Regions from separate parts of the Homo sapiens genome. Here region 1 is linked to region 2. The links are contacts of gene promoters, found by promoter capture Hi-C in human tissues and cell types (Jung and others, 2019). All regions are on one chromosome and are shown on one strand. The core of a region is centred on a gene start or on the middle of the fragment in contact, and the rest is flanking DNA. Distances in the headings are between cores, read along the strand shown. Region 1 has its middle 50 kb from the start of KLHL31. Region 2 holds the start of ELOVL5 (ELOVL fatty acid elongase 5).

Region 1 (3,311 bases), core at 404-2,903, 370 kb before region 2:
CCTTGGACCATGAGACTCGAAGAGCTTTCCAGCTGGTGAACACATCATGTGCTAGGAGGGTGGTACATGGAAGCCCTGTATTCCCCTATCCTCATATCTTGTTCTATCCATCTCTTCCATTTGGTTATTCCTAAGTTGTTTCCTTTATTATAAAACTGTAGCACTCTCAGTGAGTTCTGTGAGCCATTCTAGTGAATTACTGAACCTGAGGGAGGTCATGAGATCCCCCAAATTTGTAGTCAGCTAGGCAGAAGTACAGGTAGCTTGGGATACCTGAGATTGGTGGCTGATGTCAGATGTGAAGGCAATTTGGGGACTGAGCCCTTCGCATGTGGGGTCTGTGCTAACTCCAGGTGTTTAGTATCAGAGAGGAATTGAAGTGTTGGGCACCCAGTTGAAGTCATAGAATCAGTGTCAGAGCATACACACCATTATCACAATCCAATATGAGGAACCTTTGTGGAGTGATGGAAATCTGAAATCTTTCAGTTCTTTACTTACCTGATCTCTTTGCAGCACTGGACATGGTCAACCAGTCTTCATTCCTAAAACCCTCCTCTACTGGTTCCTGAAAACTAAACTTTTCACCTTCCTCCTACCTCTGACCACCTCTTCCCAGGCTCCTTTGCAGGCTCTCCTTTATCTTTTTGTGCCTAAAATAGTTCTCCAGGTGTCTTTTCCCAGGTCCAATCTCCTGTGCATTGATGACTTCTAAATTTGTATCCCCAATCCCCCAAGTCCTTCTCATAGGCTGATGACCAACAGTCCAACGCATTTTTGGACATTTCCTCACAGATGCATTGAACTCACTAAAACGAAACTCTCCATCTTTTCGCTTTGCTTCTGTGCTCTCTGTTCCAAACCTGCTTTGGGTCATGTATTCCGGTCAATATGAACTACAACCATGCCCAAGTAGACACCCTATTCGAGTTGCTCTCTGTGATTTGCCCTTCGTTGAAGTCATCCTAATTAGTGCAGCCAATGTTCTGCCAAACAAGAGGAATTGCTTCTTGTAGAAAATGTAAAAATAAAAGAGAAGATTTCAATGCAAATGAAGAAGATTTAGTCATGACTGAAGAGCACAGGCTAGGAAAGCGCTGTCTGGTGGACCAAGACATTACCTTGGACACTAAACCATGAAGCGGGGCCTGAAAGGACTCCCTTTTACAGAAGACCTACAGGCTTCTCCCAGAAGATGGAATTAAGGCAAGCACGAAAACTTGGAGGCTACCTATTTACCAACCTTTTTAAAAAAAGTTTTAAAAAAATTATAATTTCTGCAGGATTCCTATGTGACCACAGTGCTAAGTGCTTTATATATATTATTTCATTATTGCTCACAATAGGGCTAGGCATGGTGGCTCACTCCTGTAATCCCAGCACTTTGGGAGGCTAAGGTGGGTGGCTCACTTGAGGTCAGGAGTTTGAGACCAGCCTGGCCAGCATGGTGAAATCCTGTCTCTGCTAAAAATACAAAAAAAAAAAAAAAAAAAGGCCAGATGTGATAGTGCACACCTGTAATTCCAGCTACTTAGATGACTGATGCACAAGAATTGCTTAAACCCAGGAGGCAGAGGTTGCAGTAAGCTGAGATCTCACCACTGCACTCCAGCCTGGGTGACAGAGTGAGACTCAGTCTCAAAACAAAAAAACAAAGAAACAAACAAAAAATTGCTTACAACAACCCTGTAATCTAAGTGTTGTTTGCTCCACTGTTTAGATAAGGACATTTGGGGTTAGGAGGTTATTTGCCCAAGGACAACCTAACTTGTCAATTCTACAGCTTGAATTCAAGTCTACCTGTAAAACCTGTAGCCTGATCCGTGACAGTAGCCAAAGCCTTTTTTTTTTGGTCACAAAGGTAGTCCAAAAAGTTATCTGATGATGCTACATCCCTCTGAGTTTTTTAGGCTGGGCTAAAAGCATCATTCTAACTGCCCTATAGTTTTTATTCTGTTTTATTGTAAAGCAATGATTCATACAGTTAGAACTACCCAGGGTTAAATTCCTTTTTGTATATATTAAGCACAAATAGCAAAGTGCTGGATAGCATAATTACTTTTGTACAAAAATATGTACTTTATAAATAGATAGTATTTTAGGATATTTGCTTTTTTATAATGGAATGTTGGGGATAAGAAGGGAATGAGGTTGCAGCTAATCCTATTGGTTTTGTACAGTTCTGTAAAGATTAAATTTATAAGTGGGTTAAGTGGATGGGGGGATCGTGGTCCATGTTTTGGCTTGTTTTTATACCTCTTTGGATTAAAAAAATCAATATTTATTACTTTAAAAACTACCTTTTAGAAGTCACTCTCAAACTATTTTTCTACAAAGAGCCTTTTCAATAAACATCTTAGGAAAGTGCAGAGGTTGAAGAGCATTTCATGAGGAAGTCTTCTTTCTGGCTTCTGATAAGGCATGTCATTTAAATGAACAATTCTGCAGGTCACCCTCCACCTGAAAAATTACTGAATGCTCCCAGAGTCCCATAAACAAAGATCTTCTTTGTCCTTGAGCCAAACCCATATGTGGTTAAAGACAAAGTCAGCTTGCTTTGAAGTTCAGAGAAAGAGTTGACTACAGTACTTCACCACTGAGAAACAATATGACCCTAGCTCACTCTTATGGACGGGGTGCCTTTCACCCTTTGCACCTGTCAAGGAAGACAGACTTTTTTATCTATTTTCTTAAAAGTGGCCATGCAGCTTTATAAAGGTGTTTGTGGAAGTACTTCAACTGAATTTATATTGGAATTTAGAAGATGTGAAGATAAAATACTTCACATAAGAAAAATACTATGTTTTCTTATTACTTATTAAGTAACGAGACATTTCACTGAAATACATAAGAAAAGTACGTTTTACTTGTATGTGGTCCTATTGCATATGTTGAATACCTTTTAATAGCTATTCTGAATATTAAGTTTCAAACCTTATCAGTCAAAGGATATAATTTATAAGAGTCCCCTTAAGTAGGACGTGGAGGTCAGATGTTGGGCAGGAAAGCAAACAAACACAGAAACTAACAAATTTTCACTATGCTTTCCAGGAAAGGGACATTTTATCAGAGTCCTGAAGGACGAGTGGTAGCTAACTAGATTAAAGGAGGGGAAAAGTAGAAAATATTTCAGGCAAAGAGAACATCCTGTCTGAAGTCCCCAGCCATGAGGAAAGACAGCAGTATACAAGAAACTGAAAGAAAGCCATGGAGCTCAGACCGCTGCAGGGACAGTGGCCCCGAAAAAGGCTAGGCACAGAATTGTAGGCTATGCTGTTCTTGCCTCTATCCAGAAACTGACAGAAAATCAT
Region 2 (3,415 bases), core at 465-2,964:
AGTGCGGCGTAAAACTTAAGACTTTTGGAATCTCAAGTTAAATTAGAAACTTTTAAAACCTGGAAAGGCAAAACTTAGATGGGATGACAGAGATGAACCCTGGCCTTGGACTACTGGCAGAAGCGTGAAGAATGAAGGAGATATCTCAAAAAAATAGTCTATGCCACCAGCATATGCTTTTCTCATGTCCCTTGATGTCCATAGCAGCATTTACCACTCTGCATTGTAGTTGCTTCCTGACTGTATCATTTTCCAGGCCCAAGAAGTCCTTGAAGGTTTCAAATTTTGAATACCTAACATAGTATCTAGCAAATTGAAGTCATTCAGTGTTTGTGGAGCTCAATGGCAACTGACAATCTCGATTCTTTGTATATGTTTAATTTACTTAATTTGTACATGGTTTGTATACTTGCATTCCTATTGCAATGGCCCACTGCCTGGAACACAGCTGGCACGTGATAAGCATTACATTGTAAATATGTAAAAGAATAAATTTGCCGGCCAGGCTCGGTGACTCACGTCTGTAATCCCAGCACTTTGGCAAGCTGAGGCGAGCGGATTACCTGAGGTCAGGAGTTCGAGACCAGCCTGGCCAACATGGCGAAACCTCATCTCTACTAAAAATACAAAAATTAGTCGGGTGTGGTGGCGCGTGCCTGTAATTCCAGCTACTTGGGAGGCTGAGGCAGGAGAATCGCTTGAACCCGGAAGGTGGAGGTTGCAGTGAGCTGAGATCGCGCCACTGCACTCCAGCCTGGGCAACAGAGCGAGACTCTGTCTCAAAAAAGAAAAAAAAAGAAAAAAAAGAATAAATTTGCCTACATTAAATAGCCGACTGTTAGGTGGATGCACATAGAGGAGTAAGAATACAGCAAGAGGGGCACACGAAGAAAGGCTAAATCTCTGGGGTTTGAATGGGGAAACAGTAGGATACAAAGCTAATGAAGGTCTTTAATTATCCAAATATCAGTGAAAAACAGCAAGGATCTTCCGTTTATGCCCTGAACCCCCTTTGTCTTAAGTGCTTAAATATGCTTAGCTGAAAAGACACTGATTCCATCTTTCCTCATTTAACAATCCTTTAGAATAATTTCTAGAGTAGAAATGGAGTTGATAGTGGCTTCCAAAGAAAAATCAGAATCCCTAAGAAAAATACACGGTAAATCCTTTGCAAGGGAGTTATGGTTACAACAGTTTTGAGTCGTTTTGTTCTTGTTCCTTTATCTTGTTCAACTGCAGACCTTCACTCCGGCGGTCTCCGTGGGCATTTAACCCTTTCAGCTTTAACGATGAAGTGGATCCCCTTCAGCATGACATAACTCATAGAGGAGACCGTAACGAGGGTGGGCTTCTGCCACCCAAATGCGGCCACAGACTCCTGCCACGCCTGGCAGTAAAAAAACCAGAGTTCAGGGCATCGACAACTTCACCGGGGCTATTGCGCAGGCTCTGCGTTCCACGCAGGCTTATTAGGAAGAAAGGGGAAAAAAATTTCCCAGAGACACGTGGAACCGAGGGGCCAACCCCGGCCTAGGCTCTCCACCGCATCGGATTCTGGAATTTACGATCACGAAAGTTCTATTGTCCCGCGATTGGCTCCCGGGCCGCATGACATCATAGCGCTTGATTCATCCTTCGGGTCCCGATTGGCTGGCCGCGCCATTGTGACGTCACGGTCAGCCCACGTTCTGATTGTAGATAGCCGGCGCCTTCCTCTTCCCATCGCGCGGGTCCTAGCCACCGGTGTCTCCTTCTACATCCGCCTCTGCGCCGGCTGCCACCCGCGCTCCCTCCGCCGCCGCCGCCTTGCTGCTGCTCAAAGCTGCTGCCGCCCCTTGGGCTAAAAGGTAAAGCCGTCAGCTCCGGGAAACTTCGTCGGGGGCCGCCGCTCGGCCATGACACCCGCGCGAGCGCGCGGCCGGGAAGCGGTCAGAGAGAACTGCCGTTAGGTCTCGGACCTGGTGCCGAGAAAGAGCTGCCGGGGCAACCCGCGCTCCGCCCGCGGCCTCCAGCTCCGCCGGCTCCGGGGTACAGCCCGGCTCCTCGGGCGCGGGGAAAGGGGTGCGGGTGCGGGCGCGGGCGGCTCGCCCCACGCCGAGGCTGAGGCAGGGCGCTCGGGAGCGTTCTCTGTGCTGCGGTCCCACCTGTGCGCGCTGACAGGCGCCGCGGGGCACGACACCGTGCCCACACCAGACGCGGAGGGATGGATCTGTCCGCCTGGGTCCTCCCGCCCTGCGGGCCGGAGCGCGCGGCGGGAGAGCCGGGGGAGCGCTCTCGGAGGGAGCGCGCTTTCTTTGGAGTCGGCGAAACCCGGGTGAGTTCGAAGAGCCTGTGCGAGGGTCTGCGGGCACCGGGCGCCGCTGGGGGGACTCTCCGGCCTTTCCTTTTTGTCCTGTTCTCTCCGCTTCCGTTAACCCTGCGGACCTTCCGTCCGCCCCTCGGAGGGAAGCCTGCTAGCTCGGGACCGCTTCAGTTTTTATTGAAACCAGACAACGGCAGCCCTTGGTACTCAGGGAGGGATGAGGCTGGTGGGAAAGCGAGAGGGCGGGGACTCGGGGGCGACCGGGGCGGCCCTTTCTGGGAGCCTGATCCCTGGAGAGGCGGGAGCGGTTGGCTGCGAGGGAGGCGCGCGGCGGGGGGGCGGTTGTGCTCTGCGCCGGGGGAGCTAGAGTGTGTGTTGTCTTGCGAGTTGTAAGGAAAAGTGCCTTTTTACTGTTTCCACGCCGGTAAGACTCTCCCACCCCACCACCTCGGGTCGACGGAGCAATGCCTAGAGCAAGAGTTGTTCTTGCTGAACTGCGTCTTGCAACCGTTCCGTGTTCTTGCACTTGGCGGTTCCCCCCGCCCCATCCACAATTGTGAATTAAGCTCCTTGATTGCAAATTTGGAGAATGCATTTGGCCAGTTATGCAAAGTGGCGGAGGTGGCGGGGTCGGGGGCGGGGGGTCTCTTTCGGAAGAATCCAGTGCATGGTTTATTAGCTAGACTGAGGAACCGAGAGGTGCTAGATGGGATTTGTGGGGAGCGAGCAGCCTAATTTGTTTTAAATAGCGGGACCCGTGGCAGGAAGTGCTTCATAGAATTGTACGGAAGAGCTGATGTTGCTTGTCAGGTTTTGTAACTCATTCTCCTAACCGCTTGGCAGATAACCTGTTGGTCTGCACTTGTTTTGCTTGCACGTCTCAGCCAAAAGCATTTCGTGCAGAATCTACAGATAGAAACAGGCGGTTTTGCATTAGATGGCCGTGGACAAACATTTTAGCCTTCCATCTGTGATTGGGGACAAGTGGGTTACTTTTCTGGTAGCTCAGACACTGCCTGGGATTCTCCAGGAAAGCTCTGCACTTGAAAGGGAAATGTTACTCATTTTCCTTTTAGATTTTTACCCTAGATTCTAACTTCTTATTGCCAGGAA

The links. Contacts are between HindIII fragments. The study calls those that stand out against the background at their distance.
Region 1: a contact is called between a fragment that was not itself captured here and the fragment with the promoter of ELOVL5 in region 2, in 1 of the 25 tissues and cell types used here (heart left ventricle).

Annotation. Positions count from the first base shown.
Region 1 is chr6:53,714,323-53,717,633 of GRCh38, reverse strand. No RefSeq gene overlaps it. Among named protein-coding and RNA genes, the nearest start is that of KLHL31, 50 kb to the right of the region's middle. The HindIII fragment of the contact is 5,838 bases long and covers 1-3,311 here.
Region 2 is chr6:53,347,249-53,350,663 of GRCh38, reverse strand. It overlaps ELOVL5 (ELOVL fatty acid elongase 5), which reads left to right and starts at 1,714. Exons shown (of 8, transcript NM_021814.5): 1 at 1,714-1,847. RefSeq lists a silencer at 1,874-2,313. The HindIII fragment of the contact is 18,484 bases long and covers 1-3,415 here.